3 separate regions of the Homo sapiens genome follow, and regions 2 and 3 are each linked to region 1. Evidence: promoter capture Hi-C in 16 types of primary human blood cells and fetal thymus (Javierre and others, 2016). All regions are on one chromosome and are shown on one strand. Each heading gives the region's core, a stretch centred on a gene start or on the middle of the fragment in contact. The rest is flanking DNA. Distances are from core to core; before and after follow the strand shown.

What was found. The method cuts DNA at HindIII sites, captures the fragments that hold promoters and counts their contacts. A CHiCAGO score of 5 or more calls a contact.
Region 2: a contact is called between a fragment that was not itself captured here and the fragment with the promoter of WDFY1 in region 1, in 4 of 17 cell types (naive CD8 T cells, non-activated CD4 T cells, total CD4 T cells and 1 more). The highest score is 14.6, in naive CD8 T cells.
Region 3: a contact is called between a fragment that was not itself captured here and the fragment with the promoter of WDFY1 in region 1, in 1 of 17 cell types (naive CD4 T cells). The highest score is 6.2, in naive CD4 T cells.

Annotation. Positions count from the first base shown.
Region 1 is chr2:223,943,460-223,948,428 of GRCh38, forward strand. It overlaps WDFY1 (WD repeat and FYVE domain containing 1), which reads right to left and starts at 1,876. Exons shown (of 12, transcript NM_020830.5): 1 at 1,689-1,876. The coding sequence starts at 1,825. LOC124907989 (a long non-coding RNA gene) reads left to right here. Exons shown (of 2, transcript XR_007088100.1): 1 at 1-948; 2 at 4,382-4,969. RefSeq lists enhancers at 688-807, 818-877 and a silencer at 1,448-1,627. The HindIII fragment of the contact is 5,306 bases long and covers 121-4,969 here.
Region 2 is chr2:226,837,193-226,842,161 of GRCh38, forward strand. RHBDD1 (rhomboid domain containing 1) reads left to right here. Exons shown (of 9, transcript NM_001167608.3): 2 at 881-962; 3 at 2,217-2,435. Among named protein-coding and RNA genes, the nearest start is that of RHBDD1, 3.6 kb to the left of the region's middle. The HindIII fragment of the contact is 703 bases long and covers 1,560-2,262 here.
Region 3 is chr2:226,786,300-226,791,268 of GRCh38, forward strand. The region is part of intron 1 of IRS1 (insulin receptor substrate 1); the gene reads right to left. Among named protein-coding and RNA genes, the nearest start is that of IRS1, 11 kb to the right of the region's middle. The HindIII fragment of the contact is 982 bases long and covers 2,404-3,385 here.

The DNA of each region.
Region 1 (4,969 bases), core at 626-3,125:
TTCAGGCTTTTTCTTCCCATTCAGGATAGGGTCAATGTCACTTCAAAAGGTATAATTACAAAAGGCTAGAGACCACGCCTTCAGCTTTAAGAGAATAGCAGTACCTTCCATCCTCCAGAAAGCTTTTGGACTTGTGGACTATCCCTATTTAAGACGGCTCATTGCATCAAGGAAACACAGTTTCATTCAATAAACATCAGTCATTTCCTTCAAATTCCCACCGGAAAGCTACTGACATTGTAAACCTTTAGGATTTGAAAGACGCTAAAGTTTAAAGTCGAATCATAAATACTGTTCCAATCCAATCACTCAGGCCCAGAGCTGGTGGGAGTTCTGGATTGCATTTCCGGCTTCACCAGTATCTCTGTAACTTAGCAGCAAGCTACACCTCCACCAGCCTCGGCTTCCTCTTAGGAGAAATGAGAAAACTGGACCCAATCAGTGTTTCCCAAAAGCATGGTGGGCGTCCAATGCAAGATGTCACAGTGCAAGAGAGGACTCTGTGTGCATGCCAATTAACATGTTTTAGTTATTAGTTTACTCTGTCTGGTGAGTAATGTTAGTTTTCCTAATAAATAAGATTTCCTTTTAAAATAAATGCATCCAAATATTTTTAAAAATGAGTCACTTTCACAAAAACCTATTTAGTAAATAAGAGTTCAGGTGATTCTAGCAGCCGTGGCAAAAATAACTGATCTAGAGGCCTGGCGTGGCGTGAAATCCCTGAGTACAGGGGGAGGAAGAGAGCGAAGGCGGCTGGAGTTCCTCGCAAAGAAGCAAGCCCCGGGCACCAGGGTCCGCAGTGACCAGCCGCCGGTCCTCCACGCTTCCAGAGGAGACGATTTGGAACTGACCCGGGAGGGCCAAGAAACACCTTCCGAGTACCAGGCTAAACCCCGCCAGGGAGAGAGACCGGGACGAAGGTCCCAGGCTAGTGCGACACCGCAGGTCGGGGTTCCCTGGTTGGAGGAGCGCGGTGGGCTGGGAGGGGCGCGTTGGTGCGCACTGGAACAGGGGTCCCCGGCTTGAGCAGCGCGGTGAGACAGAGTTCCCGCGCTGGAGGGGCGCGGTGAGACAGAGGTCCTGGGCTGGAGAGGTGCGTTGGGGCGCACTGGAACCGGGGTCCCGGGCTTGAGTGGCGCGGTGGGACAGAGTTCCCGGGCTGGAGGGGCGCAGTGGGACAGAAGATCCGGGCTAGAGGGGCGCGGTGGGACGGAGCTCCCGGGATGGACGGGCGCAGTGGGACAAGGGTCCCGGACTGGAGGGGCGCGTTGGGGAGCATTGGAACAGGGGTCCTGAGCAGGAGGGGCGAGGTGGGCTGGGAGGGGCGCGGTAGGGCGCACTGGAACAGGGGTCCTGGGCTGGAAAGACACGTTGGAACAAGGGTCCCGGGCTTGGGCGGCGCGGTGAGACGGAGTTCCCGGGCTGGAGGGGCGCGGTGGGACAGGGGATCCGGGCTGGAGGGGCGCGGCGAGACCGGGGTCCCAGGCTGGAAAGGTGCAAGTCGAGGCTGGAGGACCGGCGGGAGGGAACCGGGAACCCGGCGGAGCTAAGGGGCGCAGAGTGGGGGTGGGGCCGTGCTGCCGGGGGAGCCCCCTCACGCAGGAAGGACCGGGGCCGCGGACCCCACCGCCCCCACACCCCGTCGTCGCGGAGTTCGGGCCGCCCCGGCTGCGCCCGGGCCCTACCTGTCCTCGCTGGCCGTGATCACGCCGTCCTCCTTGGGGATGAGCAGCGCGGCCGTGACGGCGTCCTGGTGCCCCTCGATCTTGCTCAGCAGCACCGGGCGGCTGCTCTGCGGCCTGGAGTGGATTTCGGCCGCCATGTTCGCGCGGCGACTGCTGCGGCCTCCTCGGCAGGCAGCCCATCAGCTGACGCCTGGGCGGGCGGGGGACGCGCCGGTTTCCCTTCGGCTGCTGGGGCCTCTTGGGCGCCGCGCCGCCGTAAGCCCCCGAGTGCTGCCGCCGCACCGCCCGTATTGCCTGGGGATGCCGCGCAAGCTGAAAGTCTGTGGCTGGGAGAGGATGCCACGGGGCGCCTGCGGAGAAATGGGGAAAGTAAGGAAGGTTTAAAAGTAAAGCCATTCACCCAGGAATAAATTGAGCACCTGGAGGGGACAAGGAATTGTCCCCCAAACCAGAGATTTCAGAAATTACAATACTACATTTCATCCATTTGAAGAAGCCATTGTTTGAAAGGCACACACTTTCAGAAATGTTAAAATGTGAAAAAATATAGTGCATCTTAGAATCTTTGAACTACAATAGATAGCACTGAGTGGTGACCATATACCAGGCATTAACTCAGTGTCTTTGCATCTCATTTAATACTGATAATTTTAAGAGATGAAATAGATGCTCTTGTATTCCCATTTTAGAGATGAGAAAACAACCAGAGAAGTTTGATCACTACCTTAAGGTTGCACAGCTATGAGAGGGAGAAAAGCAGCCCTTGATCTCCAGGAGCTGCCTGGTACTATCAGCTGAGCTTTGGTGTTGCTAGGAAGTGTTTGCTTCCTGTGGAACATAAACATCAGACGAGGCCACTCCATAATCACATCTAAACACGGCCAAAATATGAGCGATGTACAAGCCACAGAAATTACCAAACATCCCCCTATCCTGGCTAATATGAGTGACTCTTATTTCTTTATTAATTATAATGTTAACCGCTATCTAGTCTTCCTCCATTTAGATAAGATTTATTAAGATATGCAACCTTAGAATTATACGCATTTCCTGACAACATCCAGTCCACAGGAGAGCCTCTCTTCCTTAAGCTCTCCCAGGTCACCTAACACAAACACAAATCCTATAATAAAACTGTCCGAACATCCCTTTACCCAGACACCTCACCATTCCCAATGGTGTGTCTTCTCCCTCCAACAAGCAATCAACCCCATTTGTTCCTGGTGGTTTTTGGCTAGAGGTCATTGACAACCAGTAAGTTCAAGAGCCAAAATTTGGACTCAGGAAGTCAATGACTCCAAACTTCTGCCCCACTATATTATTCTGACACCTGAATTGCAGAATTGCATTAGAACCGTACTATCCACATGACTATAGAGCACTTGAAATGTGGCTTGTCCAAACTGAGATGTAGTACAAGTGCAAAATACTACAAGATTTTATAGACTTAGCACAAAACAAAAAAGATGTAATATAGTTCATCAATAATTGTTACAATGATTACATGTTGAAATGATACTATTTTGGATATATTGAGTTAGATACTATTAAAATTAATATGACCTGCTTATTTTTTTAAGGTAGCTAATAAAAACTTTAAATTATGGATGTGAATCAGATGGTACTTCTATGTACAGTGATTTACTAGAACTTTCTTTTTGTTTTTGTTTTGTTTTGTTTTAGTTTTTTGAGACGAACTCACTCCGTCACCCAGGCTGGAGTGCAGTGGTGCGATCTCGGTTTACGGCAACCTCCGCCTCCCAGGTTAAAGGGATTCACCTGTCTCAGCTTCCCGAGTAGCTGGGATTACAAGCACCTACCACCATGCCTGGCTAATTTTGTATTTTTACTAGAGACAGGGTTTCACCATGTTGACCAGGCTGGTCTCAAACTTCTGCCCTCAAATCATCTGCCCACCTCAGCCTCCCAAAATGCTGGGATTACGGGCAGGAGCCACCATTGTACTAATACTTTCTCATGATGAAGTTATTAACAAACATTCATGAATTTATTTATTCCTATATTCAACAGACATATATCGCACACTTACTATATGCTGTTGCTGATGAGATTAATAAGACATGGTTTTTGTGAGGCTGTACAGTGTAATGACTAGACACGCTACTGAACAACTTTGTTTAATCAACCAACATCTCCCAAGTGCCTGCTGTGAGCCAGGTGCCATTCTAAATGCAGCAGTGCTCAAGAGAGACAAAAATCCCTCTGCTGTTAGAACTTACATCCCAGTGAAGGAAACAGATAGTAAACTAAATTATATAATATATTAGAAGATGTTCAATGCTATTAAATGCTATGGAGAAAATAAAGCAGGGAAGGGTGATAGGGACTCTAGGGGATGTTGCGATTTTAAATAGATGGTGTGATAGATTCAGGAATACACTGCACAGATCTGCTTTCAGGGAAGAACAGTGGTCAGCAGAGAGCCTCTAGCCTTCAGCTCCTTCAGGGACTGCCCCAGCTGCTGAGAACCACTGGGTCTCAGTTGTTCCCTTCACAGGGAAGCCCACATTCAGTAACTGAACAAGATAGGAGGATAAAGGCCTGACCATCAAGACAGACCGATGAGCAACACTTGCTCTAGAACTCTCTCCTAGATTGGACAAGGCTTTGTAAGGCGTGTACTGCAGCTGACTTCTCCTGCCTAATCCTGGTACCTCCCCCTCCCTTCACAGGCATTGATTCCTAATAAACACCCTCTGAGCCAACCTCTATCACCGTATCTGCTGCTGGAGAATGCAACCTGAGACAAGTAAAAGCCTCATTGTAAAGTTACATTTTGAGCCAAGAAGGAGAGGAGGGAGTAAGCCATGTGGAAATGTGGGCCAAATACTTTTCTGGAAAAGAAAAGAGCACGTGTTAAGGCATTGAGGTGAGCACATGCCAGGGGTTTTGTAGAGACAGCCAGGCACCCCGTGAGGCTGGAGCAGAGTGAGTGAGGGAGTGCTCAGAGAAAAACAGCACAGACAGGTCACCAGACAGACCATGTTGAGCCCAGAGACCATTGATAAGGGCTTTGGTTTTTACTTCAAATGAGATAGGAAGCCATTGGAGAGTTTCGAACAGAAGGCTGGTTTAATCTGCCTTCAAGTTTTTAAATTTGTATTCATTTATTTTTCGAGACGAAGTCTCACTCTGTCGTCCAGGCTGGAGTGCAGTGGTGCGATCCTGGCTCACTGCAACCTCCACCTCCTGGGTTCAAGTGATTCTCGTGCCTCAGCTTCTCAAGTAGCTGGGACTACAGGCACGTGCCACCACACCCA
Region 2 (4,969 bases), core at 661-3,160, 2.9 Mb after region 1:
GAATATGAAGATGCAAGAAAAATGTTTAACACAAAACACATAGAAAACCCTCAAAGATGTTATTAAGTAACTTATTAGAACTGCATAAAATAAGTACATAGTTTGTGCTGGAAGGATTCTTCAGCGGGGTAGATATGAGCTGTAGCGCATGGATATTGGGACTGCTGCTTAGAGGGTATTTTGTTTACCTCGGGATTCTCAATTCTGTGTAGTCAAGGTTGTTGGATGCAGGATATTCAGTTAAAAGTTAAAGCAGTGCATACTAATGCTATTGTGGTTGTAGGATTTTTAAGAATAGCATTAGTATTTATGTTGAAGAGTAGTTTTTAATTCTTTGGCCTTCTGATCTCTTCAGCTTTGTTTGGAGACAGTCTCTTTCTGCCACCCAGGCTGGAGTGCAATGGTGCAATCTTGGATCACTGTAACCGCTGCCTCCAGGGTTCAAACGATTCTCCTGCCTCAGCTTCCCAGGTAGCTGGGATTACAGGCGTCTGCCACCACGCCCAGCTAATTTTTGTATTTTTAGTAGAGACGGTTTCACCACGTTTGCCAAGCTGGTCCCGAACTCCTGACCTCAGGTAATCCACCTGCCTCGTCTTCAGTTTAGTTATACCTTCTTTGACCCAGAATTTGGTAAAGACCAGAGGTAAGCACTAGTTTTAGAGTTGAGAATTATTGTAACATAGTGACTTGCAAGCGAAAGCCAAGGCTGAATATGTTTCTGTCCTTATCTTTGTTTCCCATATGTCGTACAACTCCACGGTAGCAAAGATCTCATGTCTACTCTAGATACCTCCATTTTCAGGAAGGATCACAGGAGTGCCCTCAACCTGCTGTGTTTTTTAGATGCAGTATTTTCTTACAACTTTATCTCTTTCAGGGGTCCATTGTAGGGGGAGAAAGAAATATTCAGGATTTAAAGCAGCTGCTCTAAAGGCTACATTCACTGCAATGTTGAGAAGGTCAGTGCCAAACCGTGGCCTACACATGTCGTTTTGATGAGAGCACGCTGCTCCCAAGGCTATACCATGGCTCCTGGATATTGAGAGAGTTTTCAGATAAACATAAGTCACTTTGAATGGATTATTCTGGAAATAATTTCGTTAGCTCTGCCACCAAATTGGCACTGCCCCATCATGAAATGTTTATTTTTCGAAGGCATTAAATATTTTTTTTTGTTCTCCTCATCGGAGAGGCAGATCGCTATCTGTGGTTTTAGGTCAGACAAGCCCTGCTCTGAATCTTGCCTCTGCTACTTAGTGATTGTGTACATTAGACAAATTAACATCCTCCCCACTTGAATTTCTGTAAAGTAGGAGTCATAGGATGTGCTACTTCAGGCCATTGAATTAAATGAAATAACGCATAAAACACGTCCACCTTGTTTTAGGCACAGAGGCTCAGTAAATGTTGTGTGTCGGACAAAGGGAAAAAAGGTATTTGTTGTCTCAAACCTAACTTTATGCCATTCATTTTATAATATTTTTATAAATGAGGTAATTTTATTACCTAACTGCACTGCTTTTCTTTTTAACCATAAAATGCTGAAATGGAGTCAAAGCTTTCATATTATTGTGAATGAGAAAAAACAAACACTTGAAAAAAGTTGAAACTTTAACGTGAAAAAACACCATCTTCAGTTTTATCACTGTAACAGAGCAACTTGTAGAAATTGTTTTGGATGTTTACAGCAAGGTAAACATCCAAAGGTCAGGGGATGAGTAATAAAGTATCTTCTGTTAGTTAATGGGGACAGTCAGCTAGAGAAGGGGACACTGTTACAGGAAATGAGACCTCGTTGAAGGTATGCATCAAAGGATGAGAAAATGCTGTTAGCCCTGAAATTGCTAATATTTTTTTAAAACACGAATTCTTAATAGCAAAGTGAAAAGTTTTACATTACATTTTTTAATAAGGGATAACAAAATCTCTTACATGTATTTCTGTGTGTTTATATTGTATATGAATGTATGAGTGCAGAAAATACTTGACTCACACTAGGTCATAATTTTATTTGTCAGTATATTGGAATATGGGGGTGGGGACCAAGTATAAAAGGAAATTTTCTATATATGTAAAATTAGATACGTACATGTATATGTAAATGTTCTTTAAAAAAACTATTAAAAACGGAAGCGATTCTTTAAAAGGTAGATTTCCTTTTATGTTGCAGTCATAGCCACGTAAGCAATGGACCTCATATTTTTTTTCAACAGGGAGCCTCTTAAACAGAATCTTACCTGTAAAACTCAGGAGCCGAGAAGCTTTAAGAACAGTGAGGTTGAAGGGCACAGGCTCTTGGTCCTTGGCAGCGATATTAGGAGGCGTGCCTAGGGAACCTCGGATTCCGGGGAGCTGGACGTGAAACTCTGTGGTGGAATAGAAATCCTCAGGGCATGAGCTATACCTAAAACGTAATGGTATTAAGAATTCTGGTAAGTGGGATTCACAAACTTGTTCTGAAGACAATTTCCAAGGTTGTCAGCCATGTCACCATATGGATGGCTTCTCATGCAGAGGAGTGAGTGATTATTGAGAAAAAAAAAAACCCACCTGACCCGTATTTTACAAAGTAGGATTCTGTGCACTTTTTTGAGGAATTAGCTTTTTAAAAAATCCCTCCAAGTTGTGACAGCTGTATCGCTATTAAAAGCTATTTGGCATTTTAACTGACTGTTGTTTAGGATTACAAATGACTCGGGGAAAAAGAAACAAGGAGTCAAAGGAAGTGTATTACTTGTGTTTATAGCCCTATCATTTTTTTGTTGTATGGAAGCAACTACTCTATATTTATATAGTAAAGTGTTTTTTTAGAGTTAATTTTTAGTTAATAATGAGCCTTCATAAGAAAAATAATTTCAAATGCTAAGTATTTGTTAGATTGTTACTAATAGTGGTAGTTAGTGATATTACATTGTCTTTTTCACACATTGAAGAGGGTTTCCTGGTGACAGCTGGAGCTTGGGGGAGGGGGAGTTACTTTCAATCAACCAGCTGCTTTGTGGCAATATCATGATGGTGATATTTCAAAGCCCATAGATAACTTTGGCTGTTTCAGGAAAGAAAATCTATCAAATTTCTGGGAAGCAACAGATAATGGGCAAGAGACCTTTGGGATCTACGTGATGGCCAACTAACAATGTGTGCATTCCGGTTTGCATGTTGGGGTTATTTACCATCTAGTTTCTTGGACATTGTTACATGCACCTCATAATTACACAGTAATAGAATCTAGCTCTAAGGGCAGGAAAATCTCATTAAGGAGAGGAAAGGAGAGTGAAAAACCTTGGTGATGCACTGCACGCTTTAACATAATACCCTATTTCATTTATTCTTGATGGTGATTCTAGAATGTAAGTGGAATTTTTTGCCATCTATGGATAAAGAAACAGAAGCTCTACAGTACTGGTTGTATGATTTGCCCAAGGCCACATACTAGTACATGATGGCCTCCATATTTGACCCCAGATCTTCTGGCATTAGCTCTAGGAATGTTGTCATTACACCAACAGCTGTTTCTCCAGGTGTTAACTTGCTTATGCATTTTTAATGCAAAGTCACAATATCAGGATAGTAATGAATGAAATAAATATAAATGTTACTTACAATGACTTCAGTTTTATAAATAATATATAGGGGTGTGTGTGTGGACTTGTGTGTATGTGTGTTTTGGCAACTACATATAATTTGGGTTTTTTTTTTCTTAAGTAAAAAGTCTCTTGGGCAATACTGTGAAAAAAATTTCACTACGTTTTTTAAAAATATATTACTGATACCAGCAATATTGCAATTATGTGTGTTGCAATGAATCAGTTGTGATTCTAAATTTGAACAAACCTAGGAATGAATTTTGTGCATACTGCCCATGTAGTCGCCCTCATCCTAACATATTGAAGGAAATTTCTTGTTTTTTTCTTTCAAGGCGTATTCATTTTTCATTCATTTATTTATTTTTTTTGAGACAGAGTCTCACTCTGTTACCTAGATTGGAGTGCAGTGGTGTGATCTTGACTCACTGCAGCCGGGACCTCCTGGGCTCAGTTGATCCTCCCACCTCAGCCTCCCTAGTAGCTGGGACTACAGACATGTGCCACCACACCCAGCTAATTTTTTTTTCTTCAGCTTTTAAGTTCAAGGGTACGTGTGTAGGATGTGCAGGTTTGTTACATAGGTAAACATGTGCCATGGTGGTTTGCTGCACAGATCATCCTGTCACCTAGGTATTAAGCCCCACATCCATTAGCTATTGTTCCTCCCTGCCTACCACACCTCCCTGACAGGCCCCAGTGTGTGGTGGCTCCCTGCTCTGTGTCCATGTGTTCTCATCATTTAGCTCCCAGTTATAAGTGAGAACATGCAGTGTTTGGTTTTCTGTTCCCATGTCAGTTTGCTGAGGATAATGGCTTCTAGCTTTATCCATGTCCCTGCAAAGGACATGATTTCATTCCTTTGTGTGGCTGCATAATATTTCATATGTACCACATCTTCTTTATCCATCTATCATTGATGGGCATTTAGGTCAATTCCATGTTTTTGCTATTGTGAATAGTGCCACATTTAACATATGCATGCATGTATCTTTATAATAGAATGATTTCTATTCCTTTGGGTATATACCCAGTAATGGCAATGCTGGGTCTAATGGTATTTCTACCTCTAGGTCTTTGAGGAATCGCCAGTCTGTCTTACACAGTGGTTGAACTAACTTATACTTCCACCAACAGTGTAGTAGCATTCTGTTTTCCCTGCAACCTCGCCAGCATGTGTTGTTTTTTGACTTTTTAATAATAGCCATTCTGACTGGCATGAGATAGTATCTCATTGTGGTTTTGATTTGCATTTCTCTAATGATCAGTGATGTTGAGCTTTTTTTCATATGTTTCATGGCTGCATGTATGTTTTCTTTTGAGAAGTGTCTGTTCATGTCCTTTGCCCACTTTTTAATGGGGTTGTTTTTTTCTCCTAAATT
Region 3 (4,969 bases), core at 1,645-4,144, 2.8 Mb after region 1:
AACTTTGTGAACCTGAGGATTGAAAAGAGACGTGGAAAGTAGTGTGTCCTTTTTTTTCCCTTTAAAAGTAACAACAACAACAACAAAAGAGAACAGTAAGTCTGTGATACAAGGTGTATTATCTGCTGTGCCCCTTTAAGTGCTGAAATTTGGGATCTGAGCATATTCTTCCATAGAAGACTTGGAGCAGTTGGGCATTTAACCAACTTTTTATTACAAAGCTTCAAAATTTATAAGCAGTCTATCTCTGGAAAGATAAACAAAACCCAGCAGTGATGGTGGCCTATGAGAAACTGGGGACAAAGGTGGGAGGAAGCCTTATTTTTCACTCTCTACCTTAAAAAAAAAAAAACAAAAACAACAACAACAAAAAAAAACCAAAAAAAATTGGAAACTTACAGCATGTACATGTATCACCTATACAAAAATACAGAGAAAAAAATAGTGTGAAGAGACCCAGCAAGCTATTATAAAACTTGGTAGTCTAAAAAAAAAAAAAAAAACTTTTAAAACATGTTTCTGTAAGAGACTACCACAAACTTAAAAATAAACGTGACTGCATATCATCAAAACAGAGGGAGAAAAATCTCAAAAGCAATTATACTTGCAGCCAGAAGCAAGCAAGGAACCACAGTTCAAAGTGTTGGACCTTTTCTTCATTAAAAATAAAAACCACCCACCCAAAGGAAAAAAAAGAAAAAAGTCCTTGAATAACAAAGCTAAGATAGCAAGAAAAGACTTTAAAATTTATTTTGTAGCCCCCACTTTCCCCCCAGGTTTCCTAACACTGACCACCCCATAACAAGTCCACATTCAACCCCTCTTCATTTAACAGCTGGATGCCTCTTCTTCTGGTTGCTTTCACTGGGACTAAAGATCCAAAGCAAAGATATCTTTTTTCCTGCTTTTTGTCAATATTATGTTTGCAAGCTTAATATCCAAAAATGGGCCATTCTTCCAAATGAGAGTTCCTTCCTGATTATTTAGTATGCTGATGGTATTGTCAGACAGGAAGCCATGGTTAGAAAGATTCAGAAAAATACAAACCTTTAAGCTAGATGGGCACTTTTGCCCTTTAGGTTTATGAAAAATGCCAACTTTTGTGAACTACACAATCGGAATCTTGATTTGGTTTTCCCGGATAACTTATGTCATAAGAAATTTGGTAACTCCTTTGGTGATCTCCTCTCAGTACCATTTTTCCCTCCATTTCCATGAATCTACCTTCATCCCCTTTCAATAAAAGGTGTACTATTTGGAACATGATAGGTGCTCAATAGAGCTTACTGAGTAAAAGAAGGGGAGGGGAAGAACAAGAAAAAATGGCTTAGGGCCTATTTGACAAAAGCAGATAATTTATGTTAGGGTTGAGAAATGGGTGGTGGGCTTGAATAGTATTAAAGACAATTAAAGATCTTCTGATCTTCTGATTGTCCCCACAACCCCTAAAACTCAAGGGTAAACATAATTATTTTTCATATCCATAGAGCCCTCCAAATAATTTTTAAGTGAATAGGGACATGATGATTGGAGAAGATTAGATAAATTATAGTTGACTACTTAGCAATTACTCAATATTCCAGTGGCCTTTAACTAACTGCTAAATGTTTATAAATGTCTTTTATTATTTTGCTAGCTCACTTAGATCATATCCTTCCTAAAAGTAAAAATCATGACTTTCTGTGCAAAACATAATTTGTTTGCCACATTACATATATTCAAAAAAAAAAACGTCTCTTTGATCATTTCAACAAACGTGAGAAAACTTCTCAAGATTAAGTGATATTGTTCAGCAATATGACCTAAATATGTCAGGGAGGATCAGAGAACATGCATTAAAGTATTCTTTGGTCAACAATAAAAGTGGAGTGCAAGGATACATATGTAATATGCAATATTTATAAAACTTGGGATGGTAAAAAGGAATACAATGAATGCAATCCAACTCAGCTTACTCAATAAAACATTCCTGGTAGAGTAATAAAACCACAAAATCTCTACTCTGCTTTAAGAAAACTGCAACTAGAATCATAGTCTGACCCATGTATTCAACTCTACTGCCATTATCAATGGAAAATACAGAAAAAGGGTCAAAAAGCCTTTTCAACATAAATACATCTTTTTCAAAGCTCTATTATTCAAAGATCACTGGCTCACTGAATAAGCACAAATAACATTTATCCAACCAAATTTATTTCAACAAATAGATTATAGCAGAGCCTGCTGCAAGAATACTATTAAAATGGAAAGTGTTCCTTTTATCATACATGACAGTACCTTATACTTGTCCAATCCATCTTCTCCCTTTTTGTGAATTAAGAATGGGAGAGGTACTACCATTTCCAAAGTATAAGACAAAAATAGAAGCAAATAGATGATACTTACTAACCTATCTTCTTAAAAAGCTTTACAATAAATTTTTGTAACTATGTCATATTAGTTTGAAATTAGTATGCAATTATTATATCATACTAACGTTAAAATGTAATTTTAAGTTAAAATTCAATATGATTACACTTTCTGAACATGTTTCAATAACATTTTAAAGACAGCTCTCAAAGTCTGCTGCATAGCTATGGACTAATAAGGTAACGAAGGAATAAATCAGTTACATAATTATAAATGTGGTAGAGGCAGGATCTATTATTTTACATGCAAAAAAATACTAGTATGAAAAAAAGTTACAGGATCTTTAGTGTGAAACTGGCTTCAAGCATGATTCACAAGAAGCTATTTTCCTTGAATACAATTTCCAGTAACTTTGTAACATGAGGAAATAATTGAGGAAATGGCTTTCTTTAAAACAAAACAAAACCTTAAAACTGTGAAATGTTCCAATATACTAAATTACCAACCCATCAAAATAAAAGGAACCATTTATATACTATTCAGCTAAGACACATATCTGATTATAGTGAGAGGATTGGAAAAGCATAAGTCCGTGGAGTTTCTTAAGAGGCAACAGACTATTTTAATGACTTGTGAAATCCACATGGAGGGACAAAAAAGGTCGGAGCTTCTGAATATATTGGCAACTCAACAGTCAAGATAACACAGGGTTGGAAAAGCAGTGTTGGCTCAACTAACTAATCAAAAACCCTAAAGCACAAAAAATCTGGACAACACTAATTTTGCCAGCAAGAGAAATATTGAGTTGTTTCATACACCTAAGAGAGAAAAATAAAGCTAAAGAAAAAATTGTGGAAGGCCTCCTATAGTCCCCAGTTGGCTTCTCAAATTTCCTTACCATTCACTTAAATGGCTGTCTCACTGAAGAACACTGATGGTACAAATGAGACACATTATCCACAAACACACCACCCCTGAAAAAGAGGTGATTTCCAACAGGATGCATGTGTTAATTTCCACAGTGTGCACTGGTTAAAGCTTACTCTATAGTGTGGGGAGGGGTGGGATGTTTCTGAGAGCTGACCTTAGGATGTAGGAACTAGCAGGTGCCTTGCATTCCCACACACATTTTATTTTTAAAAAGGCGGAAGGAAGAGGAGCATAATTCAGTCTAGAGATGGTTCCAAAAACTTAGGCTGGTCGATCAGGAGGGTTTGTCTTAGGGTTTGTTAAAACTCGAAAATGCCCCCTTGAAGCAAGAAAAGTTAATGTCAGGCCTGAATCAAACAATGTTTTCCTTCCAGGCCCCAGTCTGTCCATAAAGAATGTCTGATCCAAAGGCTAGAAATGGACAGAACAGGCTATTCTCATGCTTTATCATGACCCTGTCAACAGCTTCTTCGGAAAGAATCCTCATTGCAACTGACCCATTAAAGAGTATCAGTCATTTTCTCCACAACATTCCTATGTTTAGAGCTGCAAAGGAGGTTAGAATAATTTAGAACAAAATCCTCAAGTTACTGATGAAGAAATAGGTCCAGAGAAATTAAGTGACTTGCCCAAGGTCACTCTGCTAGTGAAGGGCACAGGCTGTGTTGGAGCCCAAGATCTCTGGCTCCCAAGAACTGCTTTTTCCATTGCATCATTTAAGATAGCACAAAGCTATTTTCCTGGAATTGTGATTTAAAAAAAAAAAAAAGGTGGCATGCCCTTTGGATCCCAAGTCTCTTCCTGTAGGGCAATGCTGGAGATAGTATTTATTGAGGGGGAACTCAGAGAAATGACTACAATATATGCAACATTTTATGGATTTATTTTTACTATAAAAAGATACCTAAACAATTGCAAACATTAAGCAAATTATTAGCTGCTCAAACTTTTCTGGAACAACAGAGAAACTCTCTCCCACTGCTCAGTAGCAGTTTTGGGTCATAACATTTGCACCTGCTTGGTACGTTTCCACCTGTGATGTTTCACTTGGCCCCTCAGAAAAAGCGCTGCCCTGGGATCTTATGATTCAGTGATGCAAGAGGGATGTTGGCTGGTGAGAAATGCTTATTTGAGAGGGAAGGAGGAGGAGGAGAAAATACTCCCATAGCACTTTTCTTTCTTATTTTCCTTATTTTAGAAAGGCCAAATCTGAACACATTTTCCATCCCATGTAGTAATATATCTCACATAATTTTGGTTACTGGAGGGTACACAACACAAATCTAGCAAGCTTTCAAAATCGATGTGCCCAGCCTAAATTGACGGGCTGTCACTGGGACTGTCAATGATGGAAAAATGAATCTGTGTCTGAGAACGCCACAGCATTTCCTCCAAGCCTTTAAGGAACACACTACCCAAACCCTTGTCACACCGGGTTCTCAGGATCTGCAAGCTGCAGTCCCGTCTTTCATTTCGCTGTGAGCTCCCTCACAGCCCAGGAGGATGCGTTTTCCCAGCTCTTACCTAGCTCTGGTGCTTTGCAGTAAAGTGTATGGAGCCTAGGGCACTTTCAAGCCAAAGGAATTCCCCCTCCCCCCATGACCCAAAACGATGGCATCCGCAGCACTCGCAGGTCTCTCTCCCTCCCTTGGTTGAGGGGGGCGGGCAGGAATCGCGGGCCAACCCCACC